2 separate regions of the Homo sapiens genome follow, and region 2 is linked to region 1. Evidence: promoter capture Hi-C in 16 types of primary human blood cells and fetal thymus (Javierre and others, 2016). All regions are on one chromosome and are shown on one strand. The core of a region is centred on a gene start or on the middle of the fragment in contact, and the rest is flanking DNA. Distances in the headings are between cores, read along the strand shown. Region 1 holds the start of EFNA5 (ephrin A5). Region 2 has its middle 750 kb from the start of LINC01950.

Region 1 (6,628 bases), core at 3,721-6,220:
TTCAGGTCTCAGCTCCCTACAACATTGTCTTGTCAAACTCGAAGCGTTTGAACACTGTCTGCATTTTTTTGTCCCCATGTTTTTAGGTTCTTGCTGTTCTCTTTTTGTTATACGTTCACCTCCTCCTATACCTGGCAAAATACTTACATTCTAAAGGGCATTTAAAGTCGTTTAAAAGTCATTGCTTCTGTGACACTGGGCGAATTATAATAAAATTATTTTATATAATGTTGATTTGTATAAATTTAAATCACATGAATGCTTTCCTGAAGAGACAAAGTCACATTATCTAACGGTAAGTGTACAGTTAATAATATAGCTCTTCAAACTCTGTTCAAGTACAGCAGGTCCTCAACGCTGTTTGGTTGAACGTCACTTCGTCATAATGGTGATGAGAAAAAAAATCGATTCCAGGCCATGGCCACTGTCTGTGAGTAGTTTGCACATTCTCCTCATGTCTGCGTGGGTTTTCTCCGGGTACTCTGGTTTCCTCCTACAACCCACAGCTGTGCTCGCTAGGTTGTGTCTAAGCTGTGCACATATCTAAATATTCTCAGTATGCGTGAGTGTGGGTGTGAGTGTGAGTGCACCCCAGGATAGAAGGGTGTCCTGTCCAGGGTTACTTTCCTCCTTGAGCCCTGAACTCCGGCCACCTGCAATCCTGAAATGGAAAAATTGGTTACATGATCTTACTTGTTTTTATTAATCTTTCTCAAATGTATGTCTAGCTCACATTTATTTCAATGTTTAACATTAGAAGTGTTTTGGTCTTTATCTGGAAGTTTGGTGATGTTTTTGTGACCGGAGATATGCATAGGAATTTAACTCTTGTTTGTATCAAGTAGCCTATGGTGAAATTGTTTTCCTTATATATGCCACTTCGCTTAAAGTCACAATTTCCAAGAACATATCCCTGACATTAAGGACTTACTGTATCTATCATCCTGCTGACTAGTAACTTCCATACCAATAATTACTTAGGCACATAATCCCAGAGTCATTTGATTTAGGTTTATGAATTGTTTCACATAGACATTTGAGTTATGTTATGAACAGCCGCGAATTTCAACATCTTATTCCAATCTTATGAATCACTTTATGGAAGAGGACAATGTATACTTTTTTTTCTGTTTAATATGGGACTATTCAAACTTTAAATAGTAGAGATATTTAAATATAAGGACATCCATATTTTTGTGATATAATTGAATTTTCCCATTTGGTTATTGTATGTGTTTCAAACGGGAAATGAGTGGATACCATTTCTTTTTCTTCACCTTTTTTTCAGCTTTGATGCCACAGGAAGCCAGCTTGCTAGCTCCCTGTTACCTGATAGTTCCCTGACTAAAAAGACTCTTCAGTGAGGATCAGCATTTTACCCTAGACAGGAGTCGTGAATTTTCTTTTTAAAGATACACATATCTCTTAAAAGGGTCCAGAATATTTCCTGCAAAACTGTCTCTGTCATATGAGCACCTATTAGAGCCACTATAAGAAAAGCTAAGGAAACAAATCCATCTTTCCTGCAACAGAAAAAACACACACCCTAAAATGGGCCAAGAACTTGAACATCAGCAAGATTACAGACCAGGGAAAAAAGCAAATAACATTTTAACTGAAAATTTGATTTGAAAAATAAAAGCTTATCCATTGGTTCTCTCACTTCTTTCCCCACTTCTTTCTCACTGCTGGAACTTTGTGAAACATACAGATGATGGAGGAGCATTTGTGTCGACATTCTGAATTTCAATTTTTAATAATTAGGCAGATGGTTGGTTTGTGGTAAAGTCCATTATTGTACAGATTGCAATTTGTATCTAGTCACAAAATATAAGTTACTTTCCTAGGACGATTTCAGGATCTTTTCAGATAGGAAATATTACTGTAATTGAAAAACGACTTAACTTTTAGCCAAGAGCCCATAACATCCAGGTACCTCCGTGCCCCTATGAACTGTTTCTTTTCCTCTCGAGTCTTTATTGGTCATAGCCCTAGATTTCCCATCAAATTCAACCCGGCCTGAGCGGCAGGCAATGCCCCTGCTGGGTGCGGATTGCAGGCCCACCACTGGAGGGCGTCTGGACGCTTCTAAACAGCTCTGAAGCGCCTGGAAATCCCGTCTGAGGACTGGAAAGCGCAGGAGGGTGAACGTGAGATTTGATTTTATTGGGCTAATAAGTAAAAAGGAGTGCAGGCAGGTGTGGGAGCAAAAGTAAACTGCCTTTTTTCTCCTGGGGATCTGCCCTTCCCACTAAGGCAGAAAACTCCCTAGGGAACATGAGAAAAAATACCGCTGCTCCCGAGCCCGCGGACCCCTTAAGGGCGGGTCTCGGGGGCCTGTGGCCCCGCAGAGCAGGCGTCGGGCTCACTTCCTGGGCGCTGGACGACAGTGGGGACGCGTCCCGAGGCGCTGGGACAGTCTCGCTGCCAGGAGATCGCTCTTCAGTGGCGGCTGAAGACCAGGCTTGCAACCTGCCCTTGAAGTCCAGGACCGAGGGGCCTTTTCCAACAATAAAGGAACTGCTTTTCTTCCCACAGCCCCCGCCCCCGGCCCTCATTTCTTTCCGCACCGGGTTCGATAAAGGCGTTTATTCTTTGGGGAGTGGGCAGCAAATCACCCTCAAGGTTGAAATGGAAGAGGTGTGAGGTTATTTCTGAAGGGCTCGTCTGCCGCATTCATTTCCTCTCTGTGGAAGGTTCGCGCTGAATTGTAATCACTTTAAACTGTGATTTGCCTGATTTTTAAAAACGTGTTTTCAGAGCATCACTTTAAAGAAAACTTGCTTCCTGCCCAAGAATCTTTAAATCCCAAGTGGGAAGAGGAGGGCTGAAAGGCACAGGAGGGGTGCTCAGACTTCCAGATAACCCAGCGCCAGGCAGCGTGCGGCGTGGAGAGCGGGTGGAATGGACAGGAACGCGCACTCCCTGAGGCTCCGTTCCAGCCCATCCGTCACCTGCGGGGCACCAGAGACAGATGCCGGCTCTCCAGCCAAAGGGTGGGCACAGGTTCCTTTAAAATCGAAAGACCCTACTCCCAGGTAAAAAGATGTCAAATCATTCCTTAGCCCAGACGGAATTCAGCACCCAAAGGGTTACACGTGGCTGCCGGGCTCCGGCGCAGGAGAGGGCGCCTCGGCACTCCCAGTAATTCAATTAGTCAGGTTTCTAGAAGGTGGGGCGGGGGAGGGGGTAGGAGGCGTGGGGAAGGGAGATTAGGAAAACGCCTCTTTCTCGTGGAGCAAACCAATCCGGTTGGAGTAAAGAGAGAGGAAAAACCCCCAATCTGTAAGCAAACAGTAGGCCGTTCCCTGACTGGTTGCTCCAGCTATCCCCCCACCGCGCTCCCACCCTTCCCAAGTAAACTGCTTGGAAGGAGGAAAAAAAAAAAAAAAAAAAAAAAGACAGTCCACATGACCCGGGCCGCAGCGGCAGCAGCGCTGGCTGGGCGCGGGCTGGCGGCACCTCCCCCTGCTTCGTCCGGAGCTCACACCCGCGCTCGCGCCGCCCGCCCGTCCCGCGTCCCGCGCAACACGCCCGGGCGGAGCCCCATCCCCCCGCCCACGTCCACGTTCACGCGTGCGGCCTCGCGCTCTGCTGAGGCTGCTGCCACTGGGTCGCCGCCGCTGTCGGCTTTCCACGCAAGTCATTAACGAGGGGGCGTGCCCGAGGAGATTTTTTTTCCCATAAAGCATTTTTTCTCTCGCTCTCTTTTTTTCCCCCTCTTTTGCAAAACTGACTTTTACAAAACCCTTTCCACTTCTTGCCAGTCGTTTCAATTCCTCCTGGGCTGCTCGTGCTGCTGCTGCTGCACTCAAGTTTATTTATTTTCCCGCCTGGGTAGGGGTTTTAGGATTCGGTTTGTGGTTTTCACCTCTGTTGCTGCTGTGCCTAAGGAGGGAAAGAGGAGCAGCTGCGGGAGGATCGGGAAGGTTTTCTGATGTAGTCATCGGGGAGGTGCCACTCGCTCGTGCGCTTTTTTTTTTTCCTCTTTTCCCATTTCAAACTGATTGATGCATCTCTACAAGTTGCTAGGCTTGGACCCGCTGGAGTCGCAGGGACACTTCTGAGAGCTCACCCCGGGCTCTTGGCACCGCGTGTGGGGGCTCAGTCTCCCTCTCGGAAGGCGATCGGAGACTGACATCGGCCCATCCAGGAGTTGGAGGGATCCATTTGAAAGTGATTGTTTCCCCTCCCGCTCTCCAGCCGAACAGTTGGGTTGGCGTCGTCTTGCAGGTTTAGGAATCCCAGCTCTGCCAGGCCGGCTGGTCTTAACCTCTGCTCTTCATTCACTGTGGTGCACCCACACCCAGCCAAGGAAAGCACGCGCGAGAAATCCCCGAGGCTCGGCCAGCCCCCGGGGTGCCCTCTTCCGCTACCGCCGCGTTCCGACTCTGCTGGGGGACCTGCCGGAAGACGCGAAGAGCCAAACTTTTCTTTGAGGTTTTCGAGGCAAGACCGCTTCGAAAGCCGGCGCAGCTGCCGCTTAACCAGTTCCAGGACACCGACAAGGCTGGGTTGCGGCTCCGGATCCCCACCCTTCTCGGCGCACCGCCCGGTACCGCAGCACTTACGACTCCTCTGAGATTTCTGGGGGTCGCCCCGCTAAGGCACAGAGGAGGCTGAGGAAAGGGGTTCTCAGACTCCCGGGACCACAAGCGCGAAGCCCTCTATCAGCACGTCGCCCTTCTCCTGCAGTTTCCCACCGGCCGCCAAAGTAACTTGGAGCGAAGCGTGGCGCAGTGCGAGGGCCCCGGGCGGTGGCGGAGCCGTGCGTAGCCTGCTGCGCCGACGCTGAGCCGGGCCCGGCGGGCCGGTGTATGTCTCCCCGCGGCTGCGGCGCGCAACTCCCGGTGACTGTGCAGCGCGCGCCGCCGCCTGCCCCGACCCGCGCTGCAGCCGCCCGGCCCGGCGCGCACCTCCCTCTCCCGGGGTGACCGGCCTGCCGCCGCCGCCCGAGACACAGCTTGGCACCTCTTCCCCCGCCCTCGCCGCCGCCACCACACACACGCACGCTTCTCTCCATCTTGTGATTCCTTTTTCCTCCTGAACCCTCCAGTGGGGGTGCGAGTTTGTCTTTATCACCCCCCATCCCACCGCCTTCTTTTCTTCTCGCTCTCCTACCCCTCCCCAGCTTGGTGGGCGCCTCTTTCCTTTCTCGCCCACTTTCATTTTTATTTATTCATATTTATTTGGCGCCCGCTCTCTCTCTGTCCCTTTGCCTGCCTCCCTCCCTCCGGATCCCCGCTCTCTCCCCGGAGTGGCGCGTCGGGGGCTCCGCCGCTGGCCAGGCGTGATGTTGCACGTGGAGATGTTGACGCTGGTGTTTCTGGTGCTCTGGATGTGTGTGTTCAGCCAGGACCCGGGCTCCAAGGCCGTCGCCGACCGCTACGCTGTCTACTGGAACAGCAGCAACCCCAGGTAAGCCGATAACAGGCGGAGAGCCAGGGCTACCCGGGCCTCGGGGCCCTGCGGAAGGAGCGGCGGCGGGGATCGGCGCGCACCAACCGCTGGCGGCGCGCACCCTCGGAGCCTGCGTCGCCCGGGCGCTGATGGCTTGAGGCGTCGGCGGGAAGCGCTCGCGTCGCGCCCCTCTTTGTTAAGCCGCCGCGGAAAGGCCAGGTACCCCTGGGAGTCCCCGGGGCTGCCTAGACCAACTGCTTCTGCGGGGCGCCGGGAGACTCGGAAAAGGGCGGGAGCCGGGGAGTAGGGACTTCTCTGCTTCCCAGCCCCGGCATCTGGCTGGCATCCGGTTCCCGGCGCGGGGAGCCCCCAGTGTGCGCAGCCGGGAGCTCCTTCCTGGAGCGTGGGTCCGCAGGGACTGCGGAGAGAACCCGCCAAACATCCCCCAAAGTTTTTTTTTTTTTTTTTTTTTTTTTAATTTTAATTTTCCCTTCTCTTTTCCCGGTGCGCGCAGAGAGAGCGCACGGGCTGGGGGAAGTGAGGGGGGCTGGGAAGCGGAAGCTTTAGGTTTTTATTTTCCTCTTCAACTGCGAGGAAATCATTCGGCCCCTGAGTCAGTCTGGGCCCGGCGCGCCTGGCAGTGGAGAGGATTCTCCCATCTTCTCCATCCCTCCACCCACCCCAGTGGGTTCAAGGTGCCAGAAAGTTTGATCTAATGCCGGGTTACGTCATGTGTGCAGAACAAGCTGCCAGAGTTGGCCGAGCCAGGAGGTGGGAGCCCTTCGCCCGCGGCCTGGCGATGTGCTGCCGGAGGAACGCGCGCGATTACCTGGAACCGATTTGTAGGCGTCCCGAAGCCCGCCGGGTATGCGGGAGACTAGAGGTGGGCGCCGGGGGCGGTCCTAGTGCGCGTGCTGGACACCGGCCAGTCGCAGACGTCCCGTGTTTTCGGACCCTGGAAGTGGAGTGGGGAGGTTATCCAGAGTGCCCGGCGGGGTCCTCCGGGTCTGGAGCAGTTCCGAACCTTTATTGCTTCCCGGCCTGTGCACAGAAGTCGGCCCCGCTAGGCCCATACCGCACTGCTTTCTCTGGGACAGAGGCTAGCTTCCAGCTGTGTGCCGGTCTCGGTGCCCTCCTAGGTGCTATTTATTAATAGTACCGATTGCATCTAAAGTCACAGGTTTTTCACTGGGCTGGAGTGGAAGTTGGGAAGAGAGAGGCGGGAGGC
Region 2 (5,926 bases), core at 2,634-5,133, 1.4 Mb after region 1:
CAAAGGTTTCATGTTTAGGTTCATGCCTCTCAATTATAATTAAGAAAAATATACCTTACTCAAATCACTGTCCCCCAAAACTTTCCTTATCAGATACCACAAGCTGAGAGTTCTTAAGCCCCCTATACAAACATACACACACACACACACACACACACACACACACACACACATACACACACATTCCTTCACTTAAGCAGTCTTTGGAAGGTGCTAACTCCACCTAAGTACTTTGCACTAAGTAGATGACTGCCTGAGATGCTGGGAGCTTCCACCACAGAACAGAATAAAGAACAGAATAATGACGATTAAACCTGTGGTTGTCATGCTTTAATCTTCATTATTCTGTTCTAGGTATCCTTTCCTTTGGCTTTGATATTCCTTCCTACTGGCTTACAGCTACTTTTAACTATGTTACTTAGTTCCCTCAATTTTTAATACTGTTTTTTACATTATTAGTCACTCATTGGTATGAGTCAAACACCTACCTACAATTTGCTCATGAGCTAGCTAAAATGTGCAAAAAACCTGAATATTGAATTTTCTTTGAAAGACAAACAACTTTCTTTTGTACCAATGTTTTGTAATAGAGCCATTGGCTTCCTAAGCATTTGCACCCAACTGTTAAGAAACTTTTTAGCTGACAAACATCACAATAGACCAGAAAACCAGAAATCTAAAACCCTATCATGTTGTGCATTTCTTCACTGAGATGATGCTCAGGAAACATTTGTGGCATTTACCTTTTATAATCGTACTTTCATAGATACATAATTTGAAGAAGTCCTGGGGAACAAATGACATATGTTCAAAGGTTGTCTTACTTTTACATGCTTTACCATAAATGTGTGTTAGATAGGCTCAGGCCTCAGTTTATTTGGTTGAAATATACCTGATGTTTATGGTTTCTGTACAGAAAACACAGTCACTGCATGTCAAACAACACTTGACAAATAACCCTGCAGCATTTTAATTCTATTTGGCAAGCTCATAGTTGCATTTTGGCCACAAATGAATCACTGAGTGACCCCTAATGATTGGTACTAAGTTTCCAGCACAGACAACTATTGGTTATTACTGACTTATGAGACGAGATCGGGTATCGCCACAAAATCACACTGGTTTGCAGGAGAGTCCATGACATCGCTTGAAATTTGTTTTGGCTTTTCTTTCATACCCTCTTTTATTCATGCCCTTCTCTCTCCCTCAGCGCCTAGTGACCACTGATGTGTCTCTCTCCTTATATATTTACTTGTTCCAGAATGACACATAAATGGAATCATGCAATATGTCATCTTCTTTTGCCTGACATAATGCATTTGAAATCCATCTATGTTGTGTCTGTATTGGTAGTCTGTCCTTTTCTGTTGCTAAGTATTTCTTATTATGAATGTACCATGTTGGATCCTCTAATTTGAAAACTCTAGCTTTTCTTTAGCTCTGAGACAAATTCTTTTGATTTTAATTTTATTATTTCCTTCTTCCCTTTTTTCTGGTCTCTTTATAGTACTCTAGTCTGATAGCAGACATCCTACTTTATGCTTTTATCTTTCCTTTATGTCAGTTGACTTTTAGTTTATTTGTTCTGTATTTCGGGAAACTTCTTTGAACCTTATATGTCTGTGTTATTGGTGTGTGTATGTGTATGTGTATAATTTGGGAAATTATATTTTTAATTCTTAAAAACTTCTTTTCTGATTTCAGTGTAATATTTTTAATTTGTCTTGTTCAAGATACTACTTTCAAAGCTTTTTAATTTCTTTTATCCATAAAATAGATTTCTCCAAGATCAGTTGTTTTCTTTACCTTGTTCTCCTTTTTGCTTAATTTTTTTCTCAAATATTTGGCAAATCTTTCTTTTTTTTCCAGCCATAGTTAAGAATGAAAGCCTAGTTTAATTATTATAATAGTCAATGCAGTTTTCTTTACCTCTGTTTACAATATATATGGAAGCAGCACTTTCTTTGTAGATGTCTCTCCGTGATGGGTATTTCTTGAATATGGGGTACACGAATACAAAAGAGGACCCAATGTGCCACATTAAACAACTCAGGTCTGCTCAGGAATATTAGCTAATTCTATTAGAGAAGAGCTCTCAGTTTAATATCTGGGTATAGATTCTGGGTTGCCAAGTGCTCTGCATGTATCAGAAGGCAGAAAATGTGATAGCTGAGGTAGCTTTTCCACAGATAGTGCTTCCAGTTAACATTCTTCCTTTATTACCAGCTGGTCCTAATCTTTGTATATATGCCTGACAATTTATGCGGTCTTTTTTGGGAAGACTTATTCCATCTCTGCTCCAGTATTTTCCTTTTTGACTTCCAGAAAATAAGTTCCTTGTTTTTGATGTATCAATGTGTACTTCCAGTCCCCAAGAAATCTTTCAAAATGTCTTCTCAATGAGATCTCTGATTTCCCATTCTCAACAACCTAGGTTTATTCTCTTTTCATCTATTTCAGCTTCATTCTTCGAAAGCTCAAACATTTATAAAATTAGATTTCTGACAGAAAGTAAAGGAAGTGTATGCTGTCATACTGAAATATTTATTCAGCTTCAATTTTGTCACAAAAATTTGTAGTTCAGTTACTCTAACTAGATATAAACCGTATACTTTATACCTCTTTTACCACATGGTTACTAACAAATATATATAAACTATTTTCTCTATATTTATATGTTTATACACTATATATATGTATAAGGTATACATATATAAACACTATTTTCAAATTTTATTTTGATTGGTAGAATATTATGGCTTGTTTAGATTTAGTTAAAGTCATGTGTACAGCAGAAACAATTCATATGTTTAGCTTTTAACTAAATGTATATCAGCATTTATTATGATTTTTATGTTTAACTTTTAACTAAATTTATATCAGTATTTATTATGGTGTTAAATGTTTCACCTTGGACAGAATGAACTTCCAAAAGCATTACTTAGATTCCATGAATGGCAGAAACAAAATCAAATCATCTTGAAATGAAATTATTTTATGTTTGTAGCATCTGCTGACAGTGATGAAAACATGACATCATTTAATTGTTAGTAAAGTTCTTTTTCTGCTAAAGGAATTAATGCATTAACACCTGTTGCTTCACTTTTCAATTCTGAACAGGAAAATGTGAGATTAAACTAAATAATATTGTTAGAATAGTGAAACTGAAAATTCATGCTTTAGAGAAAGCTATATATAAACTCTCTCTGCAGATTTATGTATTAAAATGTTTACTTCAAGTATATTATTCTCAAAATAATTCTAAACTTCTGAAGTAGATGCTAATGTGTCTTCAGCAGATCTGTCTATTCCAGTTCTCATGTTCAGTGACATTACTATGGCCTCCATGGGGTTGGTAAATATTGACAAATAATTGATTCAAGTAACACTTTCATTTTCAACTTTCTTGAGAAATAAATTCATTCACTTTTCATTAAACATGTACTTACTCCCATCTCCCACCTTTTTAGCTGATTGCTGCTGAAAGCAATTATTACAAAATGAGATACAGTTGCTAGATGGTAAAATACATTAAAAGTTGTACAATTATTACACAAAATAAATGAAAAAACCATTATAAGACTAAGCTGATTTATTGAGGTATTATTTGCATACCATGAAATTCACTCATTTTAAATTTTTCAATGAGTTTCAGTAAATTTATAGGTTTATGGAATCACCACCATGATCTAATTTTGGAACATTTCCATTATACGAAAAACAAACTGCCTTCCCATTTGCAGTCACTCCCAGTTAAATTCCCATCCCAAACCCAGAAAACAGGTAATCCACATTATGTCTCTATAAATTTGCCTGTTTTGAATATTTCTATTATTGGAGTTATACAATATAGTCTGTTGTATCTGGCTTTTTTTGCTACATAAATGTTGTGTAGGTTCATCTGGGTTGTAACATGTCTCAATACTTACTTTGTTCCTTTTGCATATAAGTTCCTGAACAGAAATTTTGAGCCTCTGTTTTGCCACACATCTTTCAAACACTTTCCCTTTGAACACTCATATTTACTCAAATACTCTAACTAGTGACTAACTAGCTGCTTCATGTATCTCTCACAATGCCACAGCACAACTGTTATTTATTCCAGTGTCTGGAAGAGGCAGCAGTGGCACAGTCTTTCCCCACCACCTGGGACTGGAATCTGTTGGCTATCAGAATAGTGACATGGACTACCCAGGATCTTCTTTCAGGTTTTACTCCATGTTAAAATGACAACTCTGTTTCCTGTACATGTGCAACATATATTTCTAGACCATGGCAAATGTTAGCAACAAAAGACAAGGACTTCCAAATTTATTCCACTCTATTTTAATGCTTACTATTATTAATGAACTTTGTTTTTTTTTTAATTTTAACTTTTATTTTAGGTTCAGTGGTGCACATGAAAATGTTACACAGGTAAACTCATGTCATGGGAATTTGTCATACTGATTACTTCATCACAGAGGAATTAGGCCCAGTACCAAATAGTTATCTTTTCTGCTCCTCTCCTTCCTCCCACCTCCACGTTCAAATGTTCCCTAATGTCTATTGTTTCCATCTCTGTGTTCAAAGATTCTCATAATTTAGCTCCCACATATAAGTGAGAACATGCAGTATTTGGTTTTCCGTTCCTGCATTAGTTTGCTAAGGATAATAGCCTCCAGTTCCATCCATGTTCCTACAAAGGACATCATCTCATTCTATTTTATGGCTGCATAGTATTACACGTGTATATATGTACCACATTTTCTTTATCCAATCTGTCATTGATGGCCACTTAGGTTGACTCCATGTCTTTGCTATTGTGAATAGTGCTACAATGAACATTTGTGTGCATGTGACTTTATGGTAGAATGATTTATATTCCTCTGGGTATATACCCAGTAATGGAATTACTGGGTCAAATGGTAGTTTTGCTTTTCACTCTTTAAGAGATCACCATACTACTTTCCCCAGTGGTTGAAATAATTTGCACTTCTGTGAACAGTGACTAAATGTTCCCTTTTCTCCACAACCTCTCTAGCATCTGCTATTTTTTTACTTTTTAGTCACAGCCATTCTGACTGGTGTAAGATGGTATCTAATTGTGGTTTTGATTTGCATTTCTCTCATGATGGATGATATTGAGATATTTTATATGCTTATTGACTGCATATATGTCTTCTTTTGTGAGGTGTCTGTTCGTGTCCTTTGCCCACTTTTTTATGGCGTTGTTTTTCTCTTGTATATTTGAATAAACTTTGCTTTACATTTAAAAATCCGAATTTTGTGTCAAGACACATAAAGCGAGACTGTCCTACACAAATCATCATGTGTGATACCTCTAAACCCAGGGTACTATCTCAAAATATAAGCTGGTGTTCTGCACTTGTTGGGTTTCTGTAATTGTTGTTGCTATTGTATTTTTGCATAATTTCTCTATGTAAAATGTATGTGATTTATATATTAAAAGCTGCTGATTTTTACATAGTAATGTTTCTACCAAACAACTACCACTGTATTTCCTCATTTTATCTGATGAGATTCTTGTTGTCCCTTTGGATTTTCCATGTAAACAATCATATCTGATTCAAGTAATAACTGATAAATCAATTCAGGGTAGAGAAGAAAAGAAAATTGGAGACACATAGGCCTATATTGTTTTACACAAGAATAAAGCAGAGAAATATGGCATGGTGAGGAAGAGAAGAGATATAAATGATCTTAGAAATGTCCTATAATTATGAGCAGTAGCCTGACAAAGTTTGCTGTATTGTGTTTCCATTGCAAGACAATCTTATCCTCGTATTTCAAGACAACTGAGATTTGTTTATAAAGACAATCTGATATACACGTATATTCAAGTGCTAGGTAAACCAATCAGGTTATTATATTCTATTTTTAGTTAATTATGTAGTAAGAGGAGACAGAAGAAGAAAGGAAGGAA

What was found. Contacts are between HindIII fragments. The CHiCAGO score rates a contact against its expected background, and 5 or more counts as called.
Region 2: a contact is called between a fragment that was not itself captured here and the fragment with the promoter of EFNA5 in region 1, in 1 of 17 cell types (M1 macrophages). The highest score is 5.0, in M1 macrophages.

What each region holds. Positions count from the first base shown.
Region 1 is chr5:107,669,279-107,675,906 of GRCh38, reverse strand. It overlaps EFNA5 (ephrin A5), which reads left to right and starts at 4,970. Exons shown (of 5, transcript NM_001962.3): 1 at 4,970-5,418. The coding sequence starts at 5,294. RefSeq lists silencers at 2,007-2,086, 3,458-3,527, 4,888-4,937, 5,508-5,577 and enhancers at 2,167-2,216, 2,118-2,617, 4,358-4,497, 5,208-5,337, 5,738-5,817. The HindIII fragment of the contact is 4,319 bases long and covers 1,645-5,963 here.
Region 2 is chr5:106,260,766-106,266,691 of GRCh38, reverse strand. No RefSeq gene overlaps it. Among named protein-coding and RNA genes, the nearest start is that of LINC01950, 750 kb to the left of the region's middle. The HindIII fragment of the contact is 4,265 bases long and covers 1,751-5,926 here.